Linked DNA regions of Homo sapiens: region 1 is linked to region 2. The links are contacts of gene promoters, found by promoter capture Hi-C in human tissues and cell types (Jung and others, 2019). All regions are on one chromosome and are shown on one strand. The core of a region is centred on a gene start or on the middle of the fragment in contact, and the rest is flanking DNA. Distances in the headings are between cores, read along the strand shown. Region 1 overlaps AGAP1 (ArfGAP with GTPase domain, ankyrin repeat and PH domain 1). Region 2 holds the start of ARL4C (ARF like GTPase 4C).

What was found. The method cuts DNA at HindIII sites, captures the fragments that hold promoters and counts their contacts. A contact is called where the count stands out against the background at its distance.
Region 1: a fragment that was not itself captured here is called in contact with the fragment with the promoter of ARL4C in region 2 in 1 of the 25 tissues and cell types used here (mesenchymal stem cells).

The regions. Positions count from the first base shown.
Region 1 is chr2:235,497,415-235,504,824 of GRCh38, reverse strand. All of the region lies in intron 1 of AGAP1 (ArfGAP with GTPase domain, ankyrin repeat and PH domain 1), which reads right to left. Among named protein-coding and RNA genes, the nearest start is that of AGAP1-IT1, 4.6 kb to the left of the region's middle. RefSeq lists an enhancer at 3,754-4,359. The HindIII fragment of the contact is 8,188 bases long and covers 1-6,736 here.
Region 2 is chr2:234,495,627-234,503,009 of GRCh38, reverse strand. It overlaps ARL4C (ARF like GTPase 4C), which reads left to right and starts at 5,929. Exons shown (of 2, transcript NM_001282431.2): 1 at 5,929-6,998; 2 at 7,174-7,383. The coding sequence starts at 6,424. The coding sequence ends at 7,204. RefSeq lists an enhancer at 4,894-5,667 and silencers at 5,852-6,141, 6,252-6,351. The HindIII fragment of the contact is 18,774 bases long and covers 693-7,383 here.

The sequences.
Region 1 (7,410 bases), core at 1,393-3,892, 1.0 Mb before region 2:
CATGCAAACATTTGTTTATGAACAAACAACTGAAAGAATGAAAATCAGCAAAAGGAGACAAACGGCCATCCTGAGTGTCATAAAATGAACCTTGAAAGCACTGAAAGGTTTCCCAGATAGGGGCTGCTGGGCTGCAGGAGCGGCTTCACGAGCAGCTACGTCCAACCCACAGAGAGAAAGACACAGCCCAGCACACACCCGACAGAAATGAGGCCATATGGGCACCAAAAGGCAAGTGAGAATCTGCACAGTGGTGCTATTCATGACAGCCCCAAAACAGGCAGCCACTCAAACACTGACAGCCCCCGAAACAGGCAGCCACTCAAACACTGACAGCCCCCGAAACAGGCAACCACTCACACACTGACAGCCCCCGAAACAGGCAGCCACTCAAACACTGACAGCCCCCGAAACAGGCAGCCACTCAAACACTGACAGCCCCCGAAACAGGCAGCCACTCAAACACTGACAGCCCCCGAAACAGGCAACCACTCAAGCACATATCACAGGCAGAAGAGACCAATAAATGGGGGCTACAATTTCTAACGACCCTCACGACAGATGAGTCTGTGCTGGCCACTGAACTGGATGCTGGTCCCACATGTGATCAGTTTGTGAAAACTTTCTCCTTTATGACTTGGGCACCTTTCTCTGTTATGTGTCAAAAAAAAAAGAGAGTTCGAGGCTGGGCGTGGTGGCTCAAGCCTGTAAACCTAAGACTTAGGGAGGCCAAGGCAACATAGCGAGACCCCATCTCTACAAAAAAAATTAAAAAATTAGTCGGGCATGGTGGTGCGTGCCTGTGGTCCCAGCTATTTGGGAGGCCAAGGCAGGAGGATCGCTTCAGGAAAGCAAGGCTTCAGTGAGCCACGATCGTGCCACTGTACTTCAGCCTGATTGACAGAGACTGTCTCAAAAATTAAAAACTAGGCCAGGCACAGTGGCTCATGCCTGTAATCCCAGCACTCTGGGAGGCTGAGGCAGGTGGATTGCTTGAGTCCAGAATGTCAAGACCAGCCCAGGCAACATGGTGAAACCCCGTCTCTACTGAAAATCCAATGAATTAGCCAGGCATGGTGCACATCTGGAGTCCCAGCTACTTGGCGGGGGCTGAGGTGGGAGGATTACTTGAGTCTGGGAGGTTGAGGCTACAAATGAGCCCCAATAGTGCCACTGCACTTCAGCCTAAGCAACAGAGTGAGACCCTGTCTCAAAAAATAAATAAATAAATACTAACAAGTTCCAAGAAATAAAAGAGTTTGAAGTGGTCTCAATCCCACCAATTCCAAACCCAAACTTCAAGTACTACATGGACACTCAGAGACCCAGGCTTGATTGTTGAAGCTAAAATTAACACAATGCTGTTCCCCGCCAATCACACCATCCCCTCCCAAATCAGGTTCACCAGGCTGAACTTCCAGCAGGAGCAGTCTCGTCAGAACAGGAGCAGATACGCGATCCCGGCTCACAGCAGCACCCCAGACCTTCGAAAACAACAACAAAGGGGGTGCAGACAGGCTTCCGGAAACGCCCTCCCTGGAAAATATGCTGGATTCTCCCCCACTGAAAAGGGCAGCTCAACGCACAAACAGGATGGAAATTCAGGGCAATCAGCTCTTTCCAAATCAATTTCTTTTTCATTACATAAGCTAGCCAGCACTTCCGACAATACCAATCCTGCTGAAGGGTACCATCACACAGTGGGCATGCCCCCAAGGTGACATTTAAGAAGTGAAAACTCTTTCCTGAAAAAAGGGTAGGTCTTGTGGCTATTTGTTGCAGGTGTTCATAAATTTTTTAAAAAATGTTTAACTTCTTTCTTTCAAGTATCCTCCATACTACAAGTCACTATTGGCTAAAACTAAAACTTATTGAATTGAAGCTAAATGTACTTTCTAAAGGTACGGTTCTGCCTTTCAGACTATTATCTGAGTGAGAACAGGGTAACAGTAGCTTCGTCCTAAGCTGGAAATCAACATGGTTGTATTTACTAGAGCCTGTTGAATGCTGACATTTCTCCAAGACCAAACATAAATCATTTGTGAACATGGACATTATTTGAAATTCTTCTCCCAGAACCATGAAAAGTGTTTTCCCACCCTTAAAAAAAAAAAAAAAAAAAAAGGCAAATAAAAAGCTTCTAACCATGATGCTAATGACAACCAGACGGCATGAGCAGTTTTAAAGATTAGACAGTTGCTTGTGTAGAAACACTGTACAAATACTCCAACACTGCAGCCCAAAAAAAGACAATCCCCATCAAACAGCGGGAGAAGTGTGAAATTTGCAAATGAGCCCCTGGTTAAACAAAAACACCAATCTGTTCCCAGAGAGCTCAGGGTGGCCACCTGTTTGGGACTGGTGGCAAGTTCTGGTTACCAATGGAAGAAACAATACTGGAGCAAGCAGTGGCAGCCCCCTCTCGGGCCCTGGTCCCCACCCTCGAGCCTATATTTAGTCTGCTCTTTACGGAAAATGTCCCAACCTCGCACACAAACAAGCTATCTGGCTGGTTACTCAAAGAATCCATTAACGATCTCTTCTGCAGGGGGTGGTATTTGTTTTCCTTCCCTCCCCAGGCCCCAGACACAAGCACGATACCCACTTCTGGCCATGGTCTCTTGTGACCAGAAAAGCCCTGGAAGATAGAGGGACTGGACCCCACGGACAATACCAACCCTGCCTCTGATGGGTCATCACTGCATCTTGGGAAAGACAGCCCACACTATGAAAAGGGACCCCCAAATCCCCCTCAGCCCCTCAGAAGCACAGAGCTTCCAGAAGGCCAGGGCTCACCGCAGCACACACAAAGCACTTGTACCCCTGAATAAAAATAACAGATGCTGCAAAGATTAGAGATTAACATCTGTAGAGTGCATTTTGTTTCTCGGAGAAAGGTACTTAACAAAGGGAAGGAATTATGTAGCTAAGCACCAGATCAGAACCTCAAACCCTGGATTTTAAAAATAGCTAAGCCTCATCCGCTTTGCCAGACTCAATCACTTAAGCTAAGGACGTGAAGGCTGGAGGATTGGGATGGGGGCGGGGAGGGGGACACAGGTTTGCTAGAGTGTAGAGAAACATAAGACGAAACGAAATCAGTGGTTAAAACAAGCCAGAGTGAGACTCACAAACTATAAACACCTGCAGGGTATACAGGGGGAAAAACGGATGCAAAATAAGGGATTTTCGTCTTAACAAAATAAAACGCCTGGTTTAGGCAAAAAACAAGAGGTGGTAGCAACAGGGCTGCAGGTTTTGTTTTGAAGGTTCCTGCAGCTGCCCCCACTGCTTCTCTCCCTTATGAGTCACTTCCTTCAGGCTCCTCCAACAGCTCTTTTAAGCTACTAGTAACATCTAGCTCCTGTCTTTTACAGAAACGCGCTTTCAGCTTGGAAATATTGGTAACAAAATGTGTCATCTGCCAAATTATCATATAATAAGTGAATACTGAAGAACCCAATCTAAATATACATAAGACTACATTAAAAAGCAACAATCTCCGAAAGACAAGAAGGAAAATCCGCAAAACCACAGAATGAGTCTAGAAGGAAATGGACATCAGCTGCCTCTACCTCCTAACCAGATTCTCTTGGCAATGTCCATCCGACATGCCACCGTGTCGCAGAAACGCAGCCCACTGACAGATGCCCCTGACAGCAATAACTGAGAATGGCCCCACATGGCAGGTGCACCTGAATGTATGTTCGGGGTTCTGAGCTAAGGAATCCGGGAGTGGCCAACCCAGAGATTCATTCCTTATCTATGAGGAACATCTAAACCCCCAGCCTGTCCCATGGAAAGCAGGCCATACAGGGTATTGAGGCTCTTTGATTGGTGTTAAGGTTGCTGGGTGGTGGTTGTTTGGGGGAGGGTGTTAAGCGAAAATGCTATATAAACTGCACGCTTTCTGAAAGCAAGCAGCAGCGCTTCTCCTGCCCAGGCCGCCATGGGACCACTCTGTAAATAAATTCCCCTAATAAACCCTCTGTCTTTTGTTTGCTGGCTCTAGGTCTCCTCTCCAGTCTCTTGAACCCGGTGCCATCCCTAATGAAATTTAAAGGGGTCTGGCACGACAGGCCCCTCACCCAGCATTCAGCTGCTTTTCAAACAGCATCATGAAGATCACATGAACACCAGCTTGAAACCATTCAGATCTGGTTTAAGTCCCTCGTCCACCACACTTAGCCTGCGTGACCACAAGCAACTCCCTGAGCAGCTGGCCTTAGGTGTCTTCACCTGAAACCTGCAGGGCAGGCTGATAGGAAACCTTCTCAGCTGGCTACAAGCACAGCAAGGAAGAAGAAACAACGGCCCAGAGATGATACCAAGTCAACTGGAGCTGCCTTTCCTTTACAGCTATGCTTCCAGAAGTGCGGTCCCTGGACCAGGGCATCCGCATCCTCAGGACACTTCTTAGAGAGGCACATTCGTGCGTCCTGCTCCAAACCCACAGAACTAGAAACTCGGGAGGTATGGGAGGGGCCGGCAATCTGTTTCCATCAGCCCTCAATGTGACCTGACACACACTCACGTTTGCTCTCGGTGTGACGCCAAAGATACTATATCATGGCAGTGACACAGGCTGTCACCCATTTGTCCTCTTAATATTGATTCTATGTCTGAAATTCACTTACACCCAACATAAACACCAACCTGTTGTAGACAGCTGATCTGAAAAAGCTGCCAAGATTTAGCAAGCAAATCTTTTGCTTCCCCTACCTACAGTAAAGAAAATTTCACTTCCATCCCAAACACCACATGACACTGAGTTCCCACCAAGCCAGCCCACCAAATCCAAAAGGTGTCTAACCCTAACTTCTGTGCTCTGGGGACGTTTCAAATTGTCCTCACTTCTGCAGCGTATAAACATTGTTTATCCTACCAAGAAGGAGCTTTGGAAAGGACCCTCTGGCAAGTCAGCCAGCCAACAAACCCCTGGGCATCCTTCAAGGGCCAGACGTGATCTATCAAACCACTGAGGATACAGCAATAAACAAGCCCTGATTTCTGCCCTCAACCAGCTTCCAGACCTCCCAGCTGATTAAGTAGATGAGCCAAACACGGTGGGCAGAGACCAGGAGGGCCTTAATTCTGGCGAGGCAAGGCTGGTCATGAGTGACACCAACAGAGACCGAGCCTCGCAGGGTGAGCAACAGGCAGAGAAGGCGGCATCTCAAAGAGCACCTGCACCACAACTGAGAAGCATGAGTAAGCTGGACTCACAAGGAACGCCCGCATTGTGGAGGTCCCGGGTGCCGGCAAGGTACGAGAGCTCACCTGGAAGCAACTAAAAGCCAACTGAGTGTTATTTTTAAGGAGGGGACTGCAAACCTGCCACCTTTCATTCAACTTGAAGGATTATGAACATGGCCAATGGTGACAAAGAAACATGACACTTATCCACAGCAGGAAGAAAATGTTTGTTTCCCTAAACATGCACACCTGCATCAACCGGACTAAATACATTTCCACATGAAAACAAATGCTTCTGGAAGTTTTGCCACAGTCAGCTGCTTTACAGAGAACAGAATACTTTAGGTTCTTTGGGGCCTTCTCAAACCCTCTTGCCTTGGGTGGCGGAAACAAGCTTGGGATGCTTTGCACACACGGCCTATGGGAAGTATGAATAACAGGGGCTCCGCAATCTCACACGGCGACAGAGGGCCAGAGGTGAGGTCGGACGGGCCCAGCTCACCGCTCTCGCACAAGTGTCCTAAGCTTTCTGGCCTCAGCAGTGCGTCTGTGTACAAGATCGCTGCAGGACGAACTGAGATGATGCACCTCAGACACTCCGCACTCTGTGGGACACACATGCTCAACAGAGCAGCTGTATCATGGGACAAAGTGGGGAACCCTGACCCATCTTCCCAGGTCCCCCAAACACTGGGGCTGAGATACTACTAAGGGGTCCTGGAATCTCCCTGTGGAAATGCCCTTAAGAAGTGCAGGGCAGGGTTCTCCTGCCAAGTGCCAGGCCAGTGGAGAGCCTGGGTTTCCTCTCATCGGCCACCTGGTGGGGATGGAGGCTTGTGGGCTGGATGAGGGCTCAACCTCAGAGGAAGGCCAACCTTCCCGGCGATGCGTGGGAACCTGGGAATCGGGCCGCCTGGCTGAATGAGCTGGCTGGGCTATCACTCACATCACGGTCCTGCTGCTGGCAAGCTGAATTACGATGTGTGACTGCTAAGAGAGGCTTTATCCTTGAAAGAAGAACAAGCTTTATTGAACAAGAAAGGCAGTTAATTCATCTACCTCAATGCCATCAACCCCCGATGGACTTTTCTAAGGAGAACCAGAGGGGAAACTAACACACGCTGTTCAGACTGGAGGCGAGATGGCTCTCAGGCTCATTTCTGGGCATGGTGGCTGCGGAGGCTCCAGAGACGACACAGCTGTGTGGCTACATTTCACAGCATGCCATGCCCCATAGGACATCCCAGAAACCTGATCAGATAAATCTGGAACAATCAGCAATGCTTCCTTAAACTCTAGTGATTTGGGGGTGAAGGGAGGGGGGAATAAACCTCTCAATGTACAAAACAAAAATTGGGGGAAAAAAACTGTTCTCTTCTGACAAGCTAGTGTTTTAAAACAAGACTGAGGGCAAAATCACCTGTATCCCATGCCTACAAACAGGATTACGGATGTGTTTTTATTTGGGAGCCTTGGTGGGCCTTTCAACTAAAATATGTTTAGTCCATCGTTAAGAGATTTTACAACCCAGACCCACCTCCACGCGCTCTGAAATAAGCATTAGCCAAAACATCCTTCCCCTGGACAAGGCTGCACCTCACTCCAACAGCAAAAATTCCTGAAGATGCCAGAAAACAGTGAAGTTTTGAGTAGGGTGCAGCCAAATGTGGGAATTTTGTGCCAACAAGAGAAACCCTATCTTCAAAAGCTCTTCATAACGTTAAGAAGTGCCCGGCCGGGCACGGTGGCTCACACCTGTAATCCCAGCACTTTGGGAGGCCAAGGTGGGTGGATCACGAGGTTAGGAGACGGAGACCATACCGGCTAACACAATGAAACCCCGTCTCTACTAAAAAAACAGAAAAAATTAGCCAGGCGAGGTGGTGGGCGCCTGTAGTCCCAGCTACTCGGGAGGCTGAGGCAGGAGAATGGCGTGAACCCGGGGCGGAGCCTGCAGTGAGCCGAGATTGCGCCGCTGCACTCCAGCCTGGGCGACAGAGCGAGACTCCGTCTCAAAACAAAAAAAGAAGTGCCCACATCACGGTAGTCCAGAAGCTTGGGAAGTCAGACCCCAATTCTGTGTATGCACATACAGAGGAAGGGGAAAAAATCCCTAGCTGGAAATCTTCTAAAATGTGGCCAGCTTTCTATTTGGTGGGACAAGTGACTTTTTGAGCCATTTGTTATGATGTGCACCTGCTGTCCTGATTGGAA
Region 2 (7,383 bases), core at 4,680-7,179:
TCAGGGAGACAGAGAGAGCACAGCTTTGTAAGACGCACGTTTGGAGGTCCTGGTGGATGGTGTGCCTGTAACCCATGAGCATCTCCATCCCAAACAGCCATCCGCACAGATCAGCCCTTTGGATTTTTCCATAGGTCATCAATGACCTTAGGAGAGCAGCTGCAGGAGACTGGGAGAGGCAGAAGCAAGAGAGTAAAAGGGATTTTCTGTGATTGATGGAGCAAAGCATCAGGTTACATGAGCACTGTGTGACTCATAAGGAAGAAATGATCATCTCAAGTGGCTATCACTCCAACAGAAGCAGCAACGGGCCAAGGAGCTCTGTTCAGATGCTGTGCTGTATCCACACAGAGGATGGTTCTACAAAAGCCAACTGTTGTATTAAAGGGAAGAGTCATCCTGAGTGACCACACATTAGAGAGGGTGGCACTGGCAACACACCCCATCCTCCCTGCTGCACTGTAGAAAGCCAATAGGGTTTGACAGGGGCACAAAAGCGTGATTGTTTTCATCTCTCTGGGGTCCAGCCAAGTAAGCTTAATTAAATGAAAATAATAGCATTTCAGTTCACCTGCAGAGGTGGGAGAAGAGGAATGAAAGTAATCCAAGTTTCCATCAAATACTTCTTGGTTCATGGTGCAGCTCTCTAATCACCTGATATTTATTGTTAACTTGTTTTTTTTTTCCTTCACTGTAGCTATTAGAGTAGAAATTTAATTACTGTGATTGAATTATTAAAGGATTCAGAAATACCTTTTGCATACTAAGCCTTTTCTTCCCCCTGAACTGGAAGCTGGCACTAAGAACTTTTCTGTCACTTTGGTATGCCTGAGTGCTGACTTCCAAAGCTTTGAGTCTTAACATCCTTGACAAAGGTTCATTTAATACATGCCATGTAAATATTAGGGAGAGATGTAAAATAGTGTTATATAAGAATTATATTTGAAAATATTACTGATAGGAAAGATAATGGCTTCTATTTATTATTATTATTTTTTGAGATGGAGTTTCGCTTTTGTTGCCCAGGCTGGAGTGCAGTGGCGCGATCTTGGCTCACTGCAACCTCTGCCTCCCAGGTTCAAGCCATTCTCCTGCCTCAGCCTCAAGAATAGCTAGGATGACAGATGCCTGTCACCATACTCGGCTAATTTTTATATTTTTAGTACAGATGGGGTTTCACCATGTTGGTCAGGCTGGTCTCAAACTCCTGACCTCAGATGACCCTCCCACCTTAGCCTTCCAAAGTGCTGAGATTACAGATGTGAGCCACCATGCCCAGCCCAGATAATGGCTTCTAAAATTTTATATCTATCTCAGGAATGTAATAGAGATCGACAATTATTAAGGAAGACTTGAAGCGGGGGAGCCTTTTAGCTTTTTGATTTAAATTTTTTTTCTTGGAGAAAACAGCAACAACAACAACCATACAAAACACTAGCAGTGGTGATCATTGGGAAAATAAAAACCTGAATTGTTTCAGCCCTGTTGCTTAGCAAAATAAAAAATAAGGCACCCTGATTTTTTTTTCCTTAGAATTATAAACTTGAATGGCCAATAGAGTAGTGGATCTTTTTTATTTTCAGGCTTTGGACCACTTGAATGAAGCAGGAGCTTGCAGGCATCACAGATTTTCATTTATCTCCCCCCAGATCTACCGTCCCATCCACAAAACTTCCCTTGGCACCAGTGTCTTAGTGGCTTCCACTGTTACGTAGCCTGAGTCGGCGTTTCTCCTGGAGTTGAGGGGGTTGCACTGCAGTGATGGTGACTGGTTTGTCTAGCATGCCCTGGGGCTTCTGGAAGTATTGGTTTGGTTCTTCCTTAAGGAACCTCTCCTGACAGATAAAAGGCTTCAATCCTGGACCACCTGGCTTCAGGAGCTTCAGGCCTTGTCACTTTGTCTGCCAACTGGCCTCCTTCATTCTCGACTCCCAGCCCCATTCTCCATTTACAGCTGCTCATGCCTGCCTGCGAATTAGATGCAAAAATCAGTTTTCTTCCCTTCTCTGGTCTCAGCTGGGTTTCCTGGATGCTCTTTTCTGATCTCTTCCACCAATTGTGATTCTTTGAACAGTTCTCCTAGTAAAGCGACTTCCTGCTCTGCCAGGTTCCTGGCTCCCCTCTCCCAGCAGATAACCCACAGGTCTCACAGACAAGACCCACACTGGCATCAATGGCTCTGAGCTCTGAGCCCCAAGCAAAGCACCCATGGGCCCCTGGCACTTTCTCAGTTTAACCAGTAGGGCTCTATTCCTGCATCTCCATAGAGAGAAGAAAAGCAGGGGGTCACTTATCCATCATTCATTCCATAACTATGGACTGAACATTTGCTAAGCACTAGGCCAATGTGCCTCTGTAGAGCCCTTCATCTATTATCCGAGAAGCTCAGCAGAGGGCACTCCTGTATTATAACAGTTAAGCACCGGGGCAGTGAACCTGAACCCAGAGTTCCACAGCAGGTCTGCAGTGAGAACATGCAAATAACCCCACACTTATGCGCGCACGCGCGTGTGTGTATGTGTGTACACGTGTGCCCATGTTCTGGTCTTTATTTACTCATCATATTCAAGAATAAATGGGATGCTCCCTTTTGCATTTTAGGTTATTAGCCTTACTCAAGCAAAGATAATAATGCCATGATATATTGCTCATCGGATTCACTCAAAAGTCATTTTAATTGGTGGCACATTTTATTTCAAAGCCCTTAAAGGGAAAAAAAAGAGAATATTTTAGGATGCAATTTCAAAATTACTGCCAAGTTATTGCCTTCTGTTTGCTTGAAATAATTGAGTTCTTCTCTGGATGCAGTCATCTTGATGAAGAATAGAAAGGAGAGGACCTGAAATGTCACTGCTGCTGGAAGAGGAATTCATCTCAGGCAGACACAAGTACATGCTATTCTTTGAAAAAATCTCTCCTTCTGATTAATTAAAATGAAGTAAGTGCCACAGTGCAGCCAATATTTTCCACTCAGTGGAATTTAGCCATGATGTATGTCCATGAAGAAATAGGCTCAAAGTAGGCCTTACATGTCTGATATGAGTGGTAAACATTACCTTCCTTTTCATAATTCCAGTGTTTTTCAATAAAAATCCACATTTGAAGGAAAGTTACCAGTCGACTCAACCAAATGATATTTTTATGTGTTAGAAGTTAAATTATCAACTGTAAAATTAACTTATCACCTGGTGAGTGAAATTAGCAGGTAGAGTGGTTGCTATTCAATTATGGTGAGTTGCTGTTTAATGGCTGTGTTCTGGAAGGCTCTATTAATGTCTATTAATCTGTTTTTTCCTACTGGACAGCAGACAGCCCTTTATTGCTAAACCCCATCATGGTGGTGCAAAATGTGGAGGCTGCAGTCAAAACCACTGAGGCTCTTGGTAATAATTAGCATAGCACCAAAAAGATACATCGGATACTTTACTAAAATATCTCCTTCCTACCACCTTAAAACTTAAAGCAAGTCTTGACTAGGGGAAAAGGAAGTAACACAAAGGTAATCTGTGGAAGCCGGATGGAGAGGCTTCCAGTCTGATCTGTCTCTTTCCAAATGTCCAGGTCCCAGGCTACTAAACCAAAGGCTCATCTTGGGTTGGGGCTCAGCCTCGGCCCTGCCTGTGGCAGAGAAGAAAGAGAAACAAGAAACAGTCTCATGAGAAGCTGGCTATCTATGGGGCAGGCATTAAAGAGAGTCAAGAAAATCACTCCAAAAACACAAAATCCTGTCTCCCCAGGGTTCCCAATAACGGAAACATCATCATTATGAATTATGCCAACATATGTTGTTTCTGTTGCCTCACTAGAGTTGCTCTTTTGGTGACAGATCCTGGATTCTTCTTGGAGAACCACCCTTCCCGATTTCAACCCCTGGGCCACATCCACTGGTGTGTTCCCTCCTCCTGGACTGCAGTCCTTGATCCAGGGTGCGTGCTCCAGGCTTTGGTTAGAGTTACTGGGAAAGAGTTGTACCTTTTCCTTTCCAGGATCTAAACCAAGGATGTGAGTCCAAGGCTGCCAGAAGGAAAAAGAATCAACACAGGGGAACACGGAGGAGGACTGGAGAGACACCTGCTCGAAAGACTCCTTTTGAGCTCCTGGGTCTAGCCATGCCTGAAGAGGACCTTTATCCTTAACTTTTCAGTGATGTCAGTGAATACATTTCCATTTTTATTTAAAATGAAGTAAGTGGCACAGTGCAGCCAATATTTTCTGTTGAACTCTATCCTTCGGGTGGCTCACTTTATTCCTCATTGAAGGAAATAGCGTGTGGGTAGAGTGGGATGTGAGGAAGAGGGCAGGCAGGTGCCCAGTTTTGTGCATACAGACCCTTGGTCCTGGAGCAGGCAGTGGGCCTCTAGGTTCTGCCTTAGCCGTCACGGGCGCCTAGGCCTTGTTACCTCACTGGACAACGTTGGGTGGAATGATAGGCAGGGTCCTTTCCAGCCTGATACTTCGTTTCCAGCCCCAAATCCACTCAGTAGAGTGGATGGTCGCTCCGGCTGCCACCTTGGGAATTCCAAGGATAGGGGTGGTGGTGGCTTGTCCTTCCTTCTACAGGTGAGGTCTTCTCACATGCTTTGGTACCAACGATATCATATGTCTTTTCGTGGTTTGTGAACAGAAGGTGATAAAGTATTTCTCTAAAATTCTAGCTTTTATTCATAAATTCTTAGCATTTTCATTTTCTTCTCCCTTGACCCCGTTTCCGTCGTTTCTGTCTCATAAGCTAGAGCTGGGAAGATGCGGTCGCCCATGCTGCGGCCTGCTGTCTCCTGCGGAGCAGCTCTCCCCAGATCTGTGTGTTTGCCATAATATACTCTCACTTTTCTCCGCACCCAGAGAGGATATACATTTGTTACATGTTTACAAACCAGAATAAAACCATTGAACTGAGGTGACAGGAGGTGGAACCCGTGGAATATCAGTGTTTGTAACCCACTGCGCCACCAGCTCCAAGCTGTAGACACATTTTCTTTCAGCCCCCGGGGCTGGTGTTGCCATTTCTGCGGAGTAGTTCACCTGCGGGCAGGTGGTTCTCAGTTCCCAAAGTCGGGTGGCAAGGGGTGCTCTCCCGAAATGCTGACGCTTCCCCTGGGATGTCAGCAGAGTCGATGCGGACGAAATGAGGTAGCCCAGGCGTGTCTGGGAGGGTGAGCTGTCCGAGCTACTTGGGGCAGGTAGGTCTTCTAATCCCCCATCGCGGCCTAGGTCCGACCCTGCCCCAACCGCCGCCACCGGGCAAGAAAGGCTGGGCCTCCAGGGTGCCCTGGGCACAGGCCTGGGCTCCGGAGGGCGGCGCTGGCCGGGTGCAGCCCCCTGGAACCCAGGCAGGAGGCGAGCCTGGGCGTCACTGGGGGCCGGGGCCGGCGACAGCCGCGGCGCGAGGGTGGGAGGGGACGCGCCCGGCTGGATCCAGAGCGCAGGCTGGCAGCTCACCGAGGCCAGCCCCGTCCCGTCCCTTCTGGGGTTTGGAGGCCCCAGCCTCGCCGCCCTCACTCCCCAGAGCGGCGCTCTCCCAGTCACCCTGGGGGCCGCCCTGCCCCGCCTCGCGCCCACAGAGCTGGGACCCCGGGACCCACTCCCTCAGGCAGGCTGCGTCGCCCACGGCTGCGGCCCGGAGGGGCAGGGGGCGGGCTAGGACCCGGGCGGGGATTCCGGGAGCCGAGAGCTATTTTTGCAAACGCGTCAGCCGCTGGGGAGGAAGAGCCGGCTCCGCGCCCATTGTGTCTGCGCGGCGCGGCGCGGGAGGGGCCGGGGGGCGGCGGGGGGCGGCGGGGACGCAGCGAAGCGCGCGAAAACGGCCGGCTGGGCGGGGAGGACCGCGCCTGACCCCCGGCGGCGGGCGGGGCGGGGCCCGGGGCGGGTCCGGGGGCGGGTCCGGGGCGGGGCGCGAGGGGGCGGGTCCGGGAGCTCTCCGGCCGCTGCAGGCTGGCGGCTGCTGCGGCGGCGCGGGGACTGTGAGGCTGCCGAGCGGACAGCGACTCCCGGGGAAGCCCGCGCTCCGGGAGCGGGAGCGGGAGCAGGAGCAGGAGCAGCGCCGTCCCAGGCCAGAGGCGAGCGCCGGGCGCCGGGAGAGCGGAGAGCCCGGGCAGCTGCCGGAGCGCGGGGGCGCGGCCCGAGGAAACCACAGAGCGAGCCCAGGCCTGGGGAGGGCGCCGAACATCTGAGGCGGCTTCGCGGGAGACAAAGCCGCGCGTAGAGACGCGATGCCCGCCGATCGCGAGCCCGGCCGGCGAGGGCGCGGGGACTGCGGCGTCTGAGCGCGCCAAGCCGTGCGCCCGCGGGGACGCCGAGCCCCGGGGCCGGTGCGGGCGGCGGCGGGCGGGGCCCAGGTGCGCCCGGCCGCGTCGGGCCCGTGACTGCTCGGGGGGCGGCGCCCTCCCGCCGCAGCCGCAGTGGCTGGCGCCGCAGCCAGGAGCCATGGGCAACATCTCCTCTAACATCTCGGCCTTCCAGTCCCTGCATATCGTCATGTTGGGCTTGGACTCGGCCGGCAAGACCACGGTGCTCTACCGGCTCAAGTTCAACGAGTTCGTGAACACGGTGCCCACCATCGGCTTCAACACCGAGAAGATCAAGCTGAGCAACGGCACGGCCAAGGGCATCAGCTGCCACTTCTGGGACGTGGGCGGCCAGGAGAAGCTGCGGCCGCTGTGGAAGTCCTACAGCCGCTGCACGGACGGCATCATCTACGTGGTGGACTCGGTGGACGTGGACCGGCTGGAGGAGGCCAAGACGGAGCTGCACAAGGTGACCAAGTTCGCCGAGAACCAGGGCACGCCGCTGCTGGTCATCGCCAACAAGCAGGACCTGCCCAAGTCGCTGCCGGTGGCAGAGATTGAGAAGCAGCTGGCGCTGCACGAGCTTATCCCGGCCACCACCTATCACGTCCAGCCGGCGTGCGCCATCATCGGCGAGGGCCTCACCGAGGGCATGGACAAGCTCTATGAGATGATCCTGAAACGCAGGAAGTCCCTCAAGCAGAAGAAGAAGCGGTAATGCGCCCGGAGCGACCGGGGAGCGAGCGAGTGCGTCAAGAAAGAATGAATGGATGGATGGATGGTTGGATGGATGGATGGATGGATGAGCGAGAACCCGCGCCCGCGAACAAAGAGCGAACCAAAGCGATGCTTCGAATTTTTAAAACGGAATCTCTGCACCCAAATGCAGGACTGGTGACTTAAGGAGCTGCGAAGTCTGATTTACCGGCCTACTCTCGACCTGCCCCCCACCCCCAGCTCAGGGGACCTTTTGTCTGAACGCCAGAGCTACTGACCAGGTCGGGGGGCCGCGGTGGGGAGTGGAAGAGCCGGTCCTGCTGTCCGCCCTCCCAGCCCCAGGTGGAAGGCTCAGTTGTCGGAAAGACAAAAGCGATTTCTT